Linked DNA regions of Homo sapiens: all the other regions are linked to region 1. Evidence: promoter capture Hi-C in 16 types of primary human blood cells and fetal thymus (Javierre and others, 2016). All regions are on one chromosome and are shown on one strand. Each heading gives the region's core, a stretch centred on a gene start or on the middle of the fragment in contact. The rest is flanking DNA. Distances are from core to core; before and after follow the strand shown.

Region 1 (3,135 bases), core at 636-3,135:
ATGGGGATCTGGGAGAGGAAAGGGTTCCTCTCTAGGCAGCTGCTGAGGCCTCATCGATCCAGTATCTACACAGGGGTCCAGTCCAGCTCCTAAAAGTGCAAAGTAATTATAGATGCGATTATTCTCCTGAGCACAGAATCAGCCAGGCAGTGTGAGGGGCCAGCCTGCACTGGTGCTGGACGCACACAGAGTCTCAGAGCCACACCCTCCACCCTCCTGGGGAACTGCCCTGCAGAACCACCCCCCATGGGCGGGCACTCGTCCTTCTGGGGCTCTTGGAGGAAATGGTTACAGAAGACTAGGCCAGATGACAATAAGGGATGGAGAATAACTAAGTGCCAAGCCAATGAGCCATCTGCTGGTAAGAACTCCATGCCAGGCAGCACAGGCGGTCCCAACAGCACGATCTCTGGATTAGCCCAAATAGCATCGGAACATTTGACAACAAATTGAACTACTAGTAATAGTGCTCACTTCAATGAGCCGGGGACACAGTATCCCCATGGCGAGTCAGCTGGCCCGCTGTAACCACCCAGCTGGGTCTCCCCACCCCAAAGGCCTCCAGGCTGTCCCCTTCTCATCCTGTCACTTGAAAAGCACAACTCATGGTGCCAAAGCTCTGACACGGACTCCACTGGAGCTGTGGGCAGGGGGTGCCAAGGTACCGAGTTCCAAGCCGTTGTTATTTGAGAGCGTGCCCCCCGCCATGAGAGCAGGTGGGGGGACATAAAGTGACACAGGATGGACTGGCCAAAGGCTGAGGACGATCACTTACCTCACAGGATGATGCCACCCCCACGGACAGGCAAGGAGCTCTCACCTTCCCCAGGACCCCAGCTGCCACCAGAGCTCCAGATGGCCCTGGGGGTGTCTGTAAAGCCTGTGACCGTCCACCAGGTGGAGACCAGGCTGGCCAGGGGAGGGAGAGGAAGTGACCACTGGCCCTGGCACTGGCTGGCCGGCTCCAGCAGGCCCGAAGGGGAGGGAGGAGCCTGGGTGCACCAGACTCTCTCAATAAGCAGCACCCAGACACTTAACAGATGGAAAGCGGTGGCTTGGAACTCACTTCCAACGAAACAATAGCACATGCTCCGGCTGGCTTTGACACTTGCTTCCAAAGGCGACCTGCACCCAGGGCCAGGACCACGGCATCTGAGCCTCCTCCCCCAGCCGCCAACCCCATTCCCAATGGAGGAGCCCAGGAGAACTGGGGGCGGCCAAGGCAGCCCTTCCCTGCTCCGCAGATCCAGAGGATGCCCACAGCCCCCTTCCCCTCCCGCCTTTCCCACACTCCCTGTAGCAATTCACACAAGCGGGGAGGGGACGAAACTGCTGAATCCAGCAGATAGCTTGTGGCGGGGTAATCCTCGGTCCGGCCCCATACAGGACAGAAATAAAATCGCCATTTCAGCTCCGGGCGCAGCTGGAGGAGGCTGACGCCCCCTAGTTAGGGGAAGGCTGTGGGTGACCGAGAAGGAACTTTTCCCGTTTTCTATTCAAATGAAATGAGGGTGGCGGTCGCAGCAGGGAGAGAGGAGCGAGGGGAGTTTTCCCGGCGGGGCTGGGGGGTCCACAGCGGCGCGGCCACGCTCAGCCCAGCGCTGGCTTAGGAGGGACGGGCTGCGTGGGGAGGCGACGGCTCCGGGCCGAAGGGGTCGCTCAGGGCTCTGCACAGCTGTCCAGGGGGCATCGGGAGATAGGCAGCCGACCGGGGGCTGGAGTCAAGGGAAGAAGAAAGAGGGGGAAGGGAGGTGCAGGGAGTGAAGAGGAGGGGAGAGAGGAGAGACGGGGGAGGGAGGGGGGAGGGGGGAGGGGGAGGGGCGGGCGGGCGGCCGGGAGGAGGAGCGCGCGAGCCGGAGTCGGAGCCCGAGCCCGAGCGCGAGCCGAGCGGAGGAGACCCTGCGGCGCGCGGCGGCGGCTCCCGGGCGTCCCGGGCCCGGTGGCGGCGCGGCTGTGGTTGGCTGAGCGCCGCGGGCCGCCCCCCGCCCGCCCCCTCCCCTGCTCCCCTCCCCCGCCTCCCGCGGCGGCTGGCGTCGGGAAAGTACAGTAAAAAGTCCGAGTGCAGCCGCCGGGCGCAGGATGGGATCCGGCTCCTCCAGCTACCGGCCCAAGGCCATCTACCTGGACATCGATGGACGCATTCAGAAGGTAGCCCCTCCCCCACCCAGACACCCCCTCCTCCCCCCGGGTGACAGCGCCGGGGCCGGGCGCGGCGGGGCGGGACTGTCCGTGCGTCTGCCGGTCCAGGCTGCGGCCTCCGTGCGCTCCGCCAGCTCTGGTCGGGGGCGGGGGTCCCCACGCGCCGGCTCCCCGGGGAAAGGGGCGACTCGCCCTGGGGGGTGGGGGGTGGGGGGGCGGGCTAGTGTTTCCGTTTCACAGGCAGAGCTTTTCTTTTTGAAAATCTGATTAGGCTGAGTTTTTACATTCAAGGGCTGGCACATGAAGCCTTTAATTTCCGGTGGATCGGCCCGCCGGGCAGCCCCGGGGTCGTGGTCCGCGGAGGGGGCGAGCAGCCGCCGCTTCCTGTCGCGCGGGGGCAGGTGCGGGGGGCGCCGGCGGGGACACTGCTCCCCCGCAGGTGAGTAGCTCCGACTGCAGAGGGGGACTCGGGCCGCTGCACCTCCGGGGCCCCGCGGAGAGCCTGGGGGGCAGCGGGTCCGGCTCTCCCCTGCTGTGCGGAGATAGGAAGTCCCTCGAATGTCCAGCGTTCCTAGCGGACTTGAGTTACACGGGAGAGGGGTTCAGAATAGACCCCCTTTGTTCGTGGCCCCCTCTGACGGGCAGGGAGGGACAATGAGCGCGCCGGCTTGGAAGGGGCTCTCATGAGCTCCCCCTAAAGTCCCCAGGGAAAAGCCATTGTGAGGAAATCCCTCAAACCTCAGCTGGGCGTTTCAGGAAGCCCTTGCAGCTGCTTCTCACCTTTCTGCCCACGGAGTACTCCACTGAAGGAGGCCAGGGAGAGATGCCCCAGCCAGGCACAGAGCAGGTGCCGGCCAGGCTTGAGTCTTTCCTGTTCCCAGAGGTGCATTTGGCCAGTTTAATCAGTAGATTTAAGCCAACAAGCCTCCCTCACCCTGTGCCCGGCTTGATCCCCGTGAAATGGAAAGTACAGCCCTCTCCCACCGTAGCCCGCTT
Region 2 (3,356 bases), core at 107-2,606, 150 kb after region 1:
CAGGGGTTGTATCTTTCACACGCGTCCGTGTGAAGAGACCACCAAACAGGCTTTGTGTGAGCAACAAGGCTGTTTATTTCACCTGGGTGCAGGCAGGCTGAGTCCGAAAAGAGAGTCAGTGAAGGGAGATAGGGGTGGGGCCGTTCTATAAGATTTGGGTAGGTAAAGGAAAAAGGGGGGTTGTTCTCTGGCGGGCAGGAGTGGGGGGTCACAAGGTGCTCAGTGGGGGAGCTTTCTGAGCCAGGATGAGCCAGGAGAAGGAATTTCACAAGGTAATGTCATCAGTTAAGACAAGGACTGGCCATTTTCACTTCTTTTGTGGTGGAATGTCATCAGTTAAGGCAGGAACCGGCTATTTAAATATCACTTCTTTTGTGATTCTTCAGTTACTTCAGGCCATCTGGATGTATACGTGCAGGTCACAGGGGATATGATGGCTTAGCTTGGGCTCAGAGGCCTGACATTCCTGTCTTCTTATATTAATAAGAAAAATAAAACATAATAGTGTTGAAGTGTTGGGGCGGCGAAAATTTTTGGGGGGTGGTATGGAGAGATAATGGGCGATGTTTCTCAGGGCTGCTTTGAGCGGGATTAGGGGTGGTGTGGGAACCTAGAGTGGGAGAGATTAAGCTGAAGGAAGATTTTGTGGTAAAGGGTGATATTGTGGGGTTGTTAGAAGAAACATTTGTCGTATAGAATTATTGGTGATGGCCTGGATATGGTTTTGTATGATTTGAAAAAAGAACGGAATAAGACAAGGAGAAAAACAGGTATTAAAGGACTAAGAATTGGAAGGACCCAGGACATCTAACTAGAGAGTGCCCAAGGAGGTTCAGCATAGCCCTGCCAGCAAAGATTATTTATTTACTTTAAGAGGGAGTTAAGAGTGGTGATTTAGGGATAGCACCAGTAGATATCAGCTGTGATGGCTTGGAGAAACAGTGTAAACCAGCAGTGTAAACAAGAGCAGGGCATTTATGAGTAGTTGAGAACGGCGAATAGGAGTATGATTAGACAGAAGATAGTAGGGATGACAAGTTTTGTTTTTTTTGCGGGGGGGAGGGCGCCGCAGTCCAACTTGGTCTGGTGTCTGGAATGAGACTGGGGCCTAATAAAAAGGAGCGTCTATACAGGAGCTCAAATGGGCTGTACCTTGTGGCATTCTGAGGACAGGCCTGAATTCTGAGGTCAAGTGGTAAAAGTATTGTCCAGTCCTTTTTAAGTTGGTGGCTGAGCTTGGTGAGGTGTGTTTTTAAAAGACCATTAGTTCACTGAATAAGAGCTTGAGAAACTGCTTGGCTGATTTGACTAATAAAGGCTGGTCCGTTATAGGACTGTATAGAGGTGGGAAGGCCAAACCGAGGAATTATGTCTGACAGAAGGGAAGAAATGACCGTGGTGGTCTTCTTAGACCCTGTGGGAAAGGCCTCTACCTATCCAGTGAAAGTGTCTACCCAGAACAAGAGGCATTTTAGTTTCCTGACTCGGGGTATGTTGAGTAAAGCCAATTTGCCAGCCCTGGGCGGGGGCAAATCCTCACGCTTGATGTGTAGGGAAAGGAGGGGGCCTGAATAATCCCTGAGGAATAGTAGGATATCAGATGGAACACTGAGAAGTTATTTCCTTGAGGATAGATTTCCACGATGGAAAGGAAATGAGAGGTTCTAAGAGGCGGGCTAGTGGCTTGTACTATAGCATAGCCTGCCTTTGCTGGTGTGTGGCAATTAGGCCTGGTGGAAGTGCCATCAATAAATCAAGTGTGATCAGGGTGAGGAACAGGAAAGAAGGAAATATGGGGAAACGGGGTGAATATCAGGTGGATCAGAGAGATACAGTCACGGGGGTCAGGTGTGGTATCAGGAATAATGTGGGAGGCCAGATTGAAGTCCACGCCAGGAACAATGGTTATTGTGGGAGACTCAACAAAGAGTGAGTACAGCTGAAGGAGCCGGGAAGCAGAAAGTATATGTGTCAGGTGTGAGGAGGAAAACAGATTTTGGAAGTTATGAGAACTGTAGAGAGTGAGTTGAGCATAGTTTGTGATTTTAAGGGCCTCTAAAAGTATTAGTGCGGTGGTGGCCGCCGCATGCAGATTTGAGGGCTAGGCAAGACAGTAAGGTCAAGTTGTTTGGATAAAAAGGCTACAGGGCGCAGTTCCGGTTCTCGTGTAAGAATTCTGGCTGCACAGCCCTGCACTTCGGCTGTGGGTAATGAAAAGGGTTGGGATGAGTCAGGGAGAGCTAGCGTGGGGGCCAACTCTAAAGCTGTCTTCAAGGAATGGAAAGAGGAGTGGGGAAAGGATTTAGGATCTATGGGCTCAGCTAGGTTTCCTTTTGTGAGTTTATATAATGGTTTTGTTAGGATGGCAAAACCAGGTATCTAAAGTCGAAAGTATCCAACCATGCCTAGGAAGGAAAGGAGTTGTTGTTTTGTAGAAGGTGTTGGGGTTTGAGAGATCAGTCGGACACGATCGGCAGGGAGAGCACGTGTGTTTTTATGAGAATTACGCTGAGATAGGTAACAGATGAGGAAGAAATTTGGGCTTGACTGAAGTAATGGGGGCTGGCTGTGAAGCCTTGCGGCAGTACAGCCCAGGTAATTTGCTGAGCCTGATGGATGTGAGGGTCAGTCCAAGTGAAAGCGAAGAGAGGCTGGGATGAAGGGTGCAAAGGAATAGTAAAGAAAGCATGTTTGAGATCCAGAACAGAATAATGGGTTGTGGAGGGAGGTATTGAGAATAGGAGAGTATATCGGTTTGGCACCACGGGGTGGATAGGCAAAACAATTTGGTTGACAAGGCACAGATCCTGAACTAACCTGTAAGCCTTGTCTGGTTTTAGGACAGGTAAAATGGGTGAATTTTAAGGGGAATTTGTAGGCTTTAAAAGCCCATGCTGCTGTAACAGGCGAGTGATAACAGGCTTTAATCCTTTTAAAGCATGCTGTGGGATGGGATATTGGCCTTGAGCAGGGTAAGGGTGATTAGGTTTTAATGGGATGGTAAGGGGTGCATGATCAGTCTCCAAGGAGGGAGTAGAGGTATCCTATACTTGTGGGTTAAGGTGCGGGGATAGGAGAGGAGGATGTGAAGGAGGCTTTGAACTGGGGAAAAGGGCAGCAATGAGGTGTGGCTGTAGTCCAGGAACAGTCAGGCAAGCAGATAATTTAAAGTGTCTCGGCCTAATAAGGGAACTGGGCAGGTGGGGATAACTAAAAAAGAGTGATAAAAGAGTATTGTCTAAGTTGGCACCAGAGTTTTAAGAGGTTTAGAAGCCTGGCCGTCAATACCCACAACAGTTATGGAGGCAAGGGAAACAGGTCCTTGAAAAGAAGGTAATGTGGAGTGGGAGCCTCCG
Region 3 (3,630 bases), core at 411-2,910, 170 kb after region 1:
ACCTGCATAAGAACTAAAAATCAGGCTGGGCACGGTGGCTCATGCCTATAATCCCAGCACTTTGGGAAGCTGAGGTGGGTGGATCACCTGACATCAGGAATTCAACACCAACCTGGCCAACATGGCAAAACCCCATCTCTACTAAAAATACAAAAACTAGCCGGACGTGGTGGCAGGCGCCTGTAATCCCAGCTATTTGGGAGGCTGAGGCAGGAGAATCATTTGAACCCAGAAAGTAGAGGTTACAGAGAGCCAAGATCAAGCCACAGCACTCTGGCCTGGGTGATAGTGTGGGACTCCATCTCAAGAAAAAAAAATAATAATAATAATAATAAAAAAATGAGGTGAGCAATCACAGTTTTAACTTCGTATTACTGAAAGAGGCACCACAGAGGGTAGGAAAGGCACTCTTTAATTGCTGACACCATCCCTCTGCTGCCCGCTGGCAGCTGTCGCATGGCACAGAGCAATCATCTGTGTGCTTGTGGGAGGGAAGGTGCAGTGATTGTGGGACTTTGCATTGAACTCAGTGCTGCTGCTTTGTCACAACAGAAAGCAAAACTGGGCTGAACTCAGCCAGCGCCCACCCATGGAGGGAGCACTTAGACTAGCCCTAGCCAGAGAGAAATTGCCCATCCCAGTGACTGGAACTTCAGTTTGGGCAAGCTTTGCCACCACAGGCTAAAGTTCTCTGGGGGCCTAAATAAACTTTAAAGGCAGTCTAGGCCACAAGGACTGCAACCCCTTGGCAAGACCTAGTGCTGTGCTAAGCTCAGATCCAGTGGACTTGGGGGACATGTGACCTAGTTAGACACCAGCTTGGGTGGCTAAGGGAGTGCTTGCACCATCCCTCCTCCAACCCCAGGCAGCACAGCTCACGGCAATGAAAGCAACTCCTTCCTTCTGCTTGAGGAGACAAGAGGGAAAAATAAAGAGGACTTTGTCTTGCGTCTTGCATACCAGCTCGGCCACAGTAGGACAGGGCACTGGGCAGAGTTGTGAGGCCCCTATTCCAAGCCCTAGATCCTGGATGATACTTCCAGACACACCTGGGCCAGACAGAAACCTACTGCCTTGAAGGGAAGGACTCAGTCTTGGCAGGATTCATCACCTACTGACAAAAGGGCCCTTGGACCCTGAATAACTAGTAACGATACCAGGTAGTACACCACGGGCCTTGAGTGAGACTGAGATGTGCTGGTTTCAGTTTCTATCTCGGCCACAATGGGGTAGAGCACCAAGTGGGCTCTTGGGGTCCCTGACACAAGGCCTTGTCTTTTGGGTTCCCTGAGCAAGGCAATTCTGGACCTGCCTTGGGCAAGGGGGTGCCCATTGCCCTGAAGGGAGGGTCCCAGGCCTGGCAGCATTTACCACAAGCTGACTGAAGAGCCCCTGGGCTCTAAGTGAACACTGATGGTAATCAGGTAATACTCTCCATGGGCTTGTAACGGTAGTAGCCATGGGAGAGGCTCCTCTGCTTACGGAAGTGGGAGGAAAGAGTGGGAAGAAATTTGTCTTGTGGTTTGAGTGCCCACTTAACTGTAATAGAATAGAACACCAGCTAGATTTCTAAGGTTTTTTGAGTCCAGTTTCTGGCTTCCAGATGGCATCCCTGGACCCACTTGGGGCCTGGGGGAACTCACTGCCCTGAAAGGAAGAATATAAGCCTGGCCGGCTTCACCACCTGCTGATTGTAGAGCCCTATGGCCTTGAGTAAACATAGGCAGTAGCAAGGTAGTAATTACGGCAGGCCTTGGGTGAGATTCAGTGTTGTGCTGGTTACAGGTCTGACCCAGCACAGTCCCAGTGGTGGTAGCCACGAGGGTGCTTGTGTCACCCTACCCTCAGCTCCAGGCAGCTCAGCACAGACAGACAGACTCCATTTGTTTGGGAGAAAGTAAAGGAAGAGAACAAAATCTCTGCCTGGTAAGCCAGAGAATTCTTCTGGATCTTATCCAAGACCACGAAGGCAATACCTCTATGAGTCTGCAACAACCACACTGTTACAGGGCTTCAGGTGCCCCCCACCCCGCCCAGTGCAGATACAGCTTAGATCAAAACACCTAAGTCCCTTCAAATACCTAGAAAGCCTCCCCAAGAAGGATGGGTACAAATAAACCCAGACTGTAAAGACTAAAATAAATACCTAACTCTTCAATGCCCAGACATCAATGAACATCCACAAGCATCACAACCATTCAGGACAACATGACCTCATCAAATGAACTAAATAAGGCAGCAGGGACCAATCCTGGAGAAACAGAGATACGAGATCTTTCAGACAGAGAATTCAAAAGAGCTATTTTGAGGAAATTCACAGAAATTCAAGATAACACAGAGACAGAATTCAGAATTCTATCAGATAAATTTAACAAATAGATTGAAATAATTCAAGAGAGTCAAGCAGAAATTCTGAAATTGATACATGCAATTGACATAATGAAGAACATATTAGAGTCTCTTAATAGCAGAATTGATCAAACAGAAGAAAACATCAGTGAGCTTGAAGATAGGCTATTTGAAAACACACAGTCAGGGGAGATGAAAAAAGAATAAAAATAATGAAACATGCTGACAAGACCTAAAAAATAGCCTCTAAGGGGCAAATCTAAGAGTTATTGCCTTAAAGAGGAGGTAGAAAAAGAGATAGGGGTAGAAGCTTATTCAAAGAGATAATAATGAGAACTTTCTAAACCTAGACAAAGACATTAATATTCAAGTACAAGAAAGTTACAGAACACCAAGCAGATTTAACCCAAAGACGAGCACCTCAAGGCATTTAATAATCAAACTCCCATAGGACAAAGAAAGGATCCTAGAAGTAGCAAGAGAAAAGAAACAAATAACTTACAATAGAGCTACAATATGACTGGCAGCAGACTTCTCAGTGGAAACCTTACAGGCCAGGAGAGAGTGGCATGATGTATTTAAAGGGCTGAAGAAGAAAAAAAAAAAAAAAACTTTTACCCTAGAATAGTACATCTGGTGAGAAAATATCCTTAAATAAAGACTTTCCCAGACAAACAAAAGCTGAGGGATTTCACATTCTTTTAAATGCTGTATAATAACCCATAAAATGAATGTACCATATTTAACACGTAATGTTTAACACATTATTAAATGCCTAGGGGCATTATTCAATAATGAAGCATGCCTATAAAAACTAGAAAATAGCCTCAAAGGGGTGAATCTAAGAGGAGGTAGACAAAGAAACAGGGGTAGAAGTTTATTCAAAAAGATAACAACAAAGAACTTTCCAAACCTAGAGAAAGAGATCAATATTCAAGTACAAGAAGGTTATAGAACACTCCTCACCAGACTTGTCCTACAAGAAACGCTAAGAAAGTTTCTTCAATCAGAAAGAAAAGGACATTAATGAGAAGTAAGAAAACTTCTGAAGGTATGAAAGTCACTGGTAATAGTAAGTACATAGAAAAACACAGAATATTATAACACTGTAATTATGGTGTGTAAACTACTTTTAAGTAGAAAGACTAAAAGACGAACCAATAAAAAATAATAACTACAACAACTTTTTAAGACATAGACAGTACAATAAGGTATAGATAGAATCAACAAAAGGTTGAAAAGCAGAGGGATGAAGTTAAAGTATGGGGTTTTCATTAGTTT
Region 4 (3,464 bases), core at 704-3,203, 190 kb after region 1:
ATGAATCTATGTATGTGCATATATATGGTGCGAGTGTGTGCATACGTGATTGGTTGTGTGTGGGTGCCTCTATGGTGTGTGCATGTTCTGTGTGGTGTGTGCCTGTGTGTATGTGGATATGTGCATGTATGGTGTGAGTTTAGTGTGGTGTGGCACATGTGTGTATGTGGATGTGTGGTATGTGAGTGCATGATGTACCTGTGTATGTACATGTATGGTGCGGAGTGCGCACGTGTGATGTGGTGTGGTACATGCGTAAGTACATGTGTGGTGTGGTGGGTGTGTGTGCATGGTGTGGAATGTGCACGTGTGTGATGTGTGGCACATGCATATGTACGTGTATGGTGCACGTGTGTGTAGTGTGGTATAGCGTAGCATGGTGCATGCTCCACGCTCCTCTGGGACCCTCAAGCTTCCCTGCCTCCTCTGTGGGGACCCCTGGGTGACGTCTTGCTGTAGAGGAGAGGGCGCTGCTGTGCAATTCTGGTCCAGATGGTTCAGCTGGTGACCCTGGCCTCCCCATGCCAGGCTCCTGGAGGCCATTCCCAAGGTCCTGGGGGGAGGATTGAAACCACGCCCCTGGGTCCCACACCCACCTGGCCCCCTACCCCCGAAACTGCCGCCACACCCAATCCCCCCTCTCCCGGATCTGGGAGCTGGGATTCTGCCCTGCTGTCCCCGTCTGGGGCCCCTCTCCTCTGCAGGTGCCTCAGTTGGGAGAAGGAGGGGTGGCTGTGAAGGTGAGGATGAAGGAGATGGCCCAAGAGCACAGCCTGGGGGCAAGTTCCCAGGGAGGCACTCGCTGGTAAGGGAACAGGGAACACTCGCTGTCACCCACCTTCCTTGTGACAGTGGCGCTGTGGCCCATCCACCATCACCCCAGCGCTTCACCATGAGCAGCTTCACGAATCCATGCCCAGCTCACTGCAGAATCCCCGGGCACCAGCGCTTCGCCAAGAGTGGCCTCCAGACTCCACATTTTAAGAAGGAACTCCCACCCCATTCAGCTCGCTGCAGAATCCCCAGGGTCCCTGCCAGCCTGGCACCCAGCGTGCCCCTCAGTATTCTGGGGATTAGTGGGGGAGTCCCTCTGCCGGGAAGAGGTCCTGGCTGTGTCCCTGCAGGGCAGTGGCTGAGCCCATGCCTCGACCCCAGGGCCAGTCCCCGCCAGGTGCCATCCTGAGCAGGGCCACAGAACAGATGTCCCACATGGCCAGGACCCCTGTGGCCACCTGACCCCGGGGGGGCTGTGGCCCTCGGTGAAGCAGGTGACCGGGCGGGCTGTGGGGTTTGTCAGCTCCGCAGCGTCACTGCCGCTCAGCGTATGAGTTTCCACTCCCAGCACTCAATGAACAGCTGAGCAACTGCAGGTGCCTCCGAGTGCTGGGAGAGGGGATGCTCAGCCAGCCAAGGGCCTTTGCCCCAGGGGAGTAAAATCGGGGCATTTCCTGGTGGGTGTGGGCTGGGCTGGAGAAGCTGGGCCTCCGGGCAGGGGCTGGCATACTGTCCAGACACTGCACGGACTGCCAGACACTCCTCACCTGGGCCTCGGGCTTCTCACCTGAACCACAGGGTGGTAACCCCTGCCCCTCAGGTGGCATTGACGTGACCTGCCTAGTGCACAGTGAGCCTGAGGCAACACGGCCACCACCAGGAGACTCCCTGGGGAAGAGGCCCCCAGACAGCCAGGTGCCCATGAAGTTCTGCACAGGGGCCGCCGCCGTCCAGGAGATGGGAGGGCCCTGTCTGCACCCTGTCTGGAAGGGGAGTGGGGCGAGCGGGCCACTTGGCCTCCCTGGTATAGGTAAGGCCAAGGCAGCTAGAACTGGGGACAGAATACCCGCAAAGGGGAGGGGAGCTGCACAGATGAAAGGAAATACACACCAGCGTCCCGTTGGGGTCTTCGGATGAACACCAACCTACACATTCTGTAAAACCCCAGGACGCCAAAGAGTAGCTTTTGAGGAAAAAACAATCCTCCGGAGGGTAAGACAAACAATTCCCGCCTTGCACAGAAATCACCCTCGTCCCTCCAGCCAGTGTGCAGACACTTCTGAATACCCAGGATTCTGCAGGGACAGCAGGAGGGTCACACCTGGGAAGGACTAAATCATCCAAGGAAAGGCTACTTCAGCCTCACTCTAGTGAGCTTAAAACAAACCTGAAAAAGACCAAATTAATCTACATGGGGCTTAACAGCCGGCCAGAAAGCGTAATATTCTTTAAAGGAACCTTAACAAAACTTCACACTTAATAATGTAAATCTCACCATGTTCCTAGTCAAAAATTTACTACACAGACTCAGTAGCGGAAAAACATATCCCATAAGCAGAGGACAAATCACAGATGCTCCTCGACTTACGATGGAGCTACATCCGAACAAGCTCATCGTCGGCCGACAGATCGCACGCAAGTGGTCCACGGATCGCACATAAGTGGTCCACAGTCGACAGAAACAGACCTAGATATGACAGTAATAATGAATTAGCAGAAAAGGAACAATTATCTTAAATTTGCTCCATATGCTCGAGGGTATTTTTTAAAGCATGATTATGATTAAAAGAGAAATGGAAGACACTGGTGTGCTTTTTTTTTTTTTTTTTTTTTTTTTTGAGACCGTCACTCTGTCACCCAGGCTGGAATGCAGTAGTGCAATCACGGCTTGCTGCAGCCTCAAACTCCCAGGCTCAAGTGATCCTCCCGCCTCAGCCTCCCGAGCAGCTGGGACTACAGGCATGTGCCACCACACCTGGCTAATTTTTTTTTTTTTTAAGACAGATTCTTGCTCTGTCGCCCAGGCTGGAGTACAGTGGCGCGATCTCGGCTCACTGCAACCTCCGCCTCCCAGGTTCAAGCGATTCTCCTGCTTTAGCCTCTCAAATAACTGGGACAACAGGCATGTGCCCAGCTAATTTTTTATATTTTTAGTAGAGACAGGGTTTCACCATATTGGCCAAGCTGGTCTCAAACTCCTAACCTTGTGATCCACTGTCCTCCCAAAATGCTGGGATTACAGGCGTGAGCCACCGCACCTGACCTTTTTAATTATTTTTAAAGATGAGGTCTCACTGTATTGCCCAGGCTAGTCTCAAACTCCTGGGCTCAAGCAATCCCCCTGCCTCAACTTCCCAAAGTGTTGGGATCACAGGTGTGAGCCGCCAGCCTAGCTGGAAGACATTTTTTTAAATACCAAAACCAAATTTATAGAGATGAAAAAACACAATGGCTCATACAGAAAATGGCCATAGCTTAACAGCAGCTTAAAAGATCAGTGGGCTTGAAGACGTGGAAACAGAATCTACCAAAAATGAAACGCAAACTGAAGAAGATGAGCAGACTCACGGACCCATGAGTCCACAGCAAGCAGCCCATTCGAGTACCTGGGACTGCAGGAGGCAGGGGAAGAGACCGAATAGCTAGAATATTTCCAAATTGCATAAAAATGACAAAGCCTACAAATCTTG

The links. The method cuts DNA at HindIII sites, captures the fragments that hold promoters and counts their contacts. A CHiCAGO score of 5 or more calls a contact.
Region 2: a fragment that was not itself captured here is called in contact with the fragment with the promoter of PDE9A in region 1 in 2 of 17 cell types (M2 macrophages and M1 macrophages); the score reaches 5.9 in M2 macrophages.
Region 3: a fragment that was not itself captured here is called in contact with the fragment with the promoter of PDE9A in region 1 in 11 of 17 cell types (endothelial precursors, non-activated CD4 T cells, M0 macrophages and 8 more); the score reaches 8.0 in endothelial precursors.
Region 4: a fragment that was not itself captured here is called in contact with the fragment with the promoter of PDE9A in region 1 in 1 of 17 cell types (naive CD4 T cells); the score reaches 5.1 in naive CD4 T cells.

What each region holds. Positions count from the first base shown.
Region 1 is chr21:42,651,736-42,654,870 of GRCh38, forward strand. It overlaps PDE9A (phosphodiesterase 9A), which reads left to right and starts at 1,886. Exons shown (of 20, transcript NM_002606.3): 1 at 1,886-2,148. The coding sequence starts at 2,080. It overlaps LOC101928255 (a long non-coding RNA gene), which reads right to left and starts at 1,923. Exons shown (of 3, transcript XR_244322.4): 1 at 1-1,923. RefSeq lists an enhancer at 850-1,571. The HindIII fragment of the contact is 24,905 bases long and covers 1-3,135 here.
Region 2 is chr21:42,800,832-42,804,187 of GRCh38, forward strand. No RefSeq gene overlaps it. Among named protein-coding and RNA genes, the nearest start is that of LINC01668, 23 kb to the left of the region's middle. RefSeq lists an enhancer at 50-631. The HindIII fragment of the contact is 9,598 bases long and covers 1-3,356 here.
Region 3 is chr21:42,819,546-42,823,175 of GRCh38, forward strand. No RefSeq gene overlaps it. Among named protein-coding and RNA genes, the nearest start is that of LINC01668, 41 kb to the left of the region's middle. The HindIII fragment of the contact is 1,993 bases long and covers 665-2,657 here.
Region 4 is chr21:42,840,821-42,844,284 of GRCh38, forward strand. It overlaps a transcript of WDR4 not described here. Among named protein-coding and RNA genes, the nearest start is that of WDR4, 37 kb to the right of the region's middle. The HindIII fragment of the contact is 3,086 bases long and covers 411-3,464 here.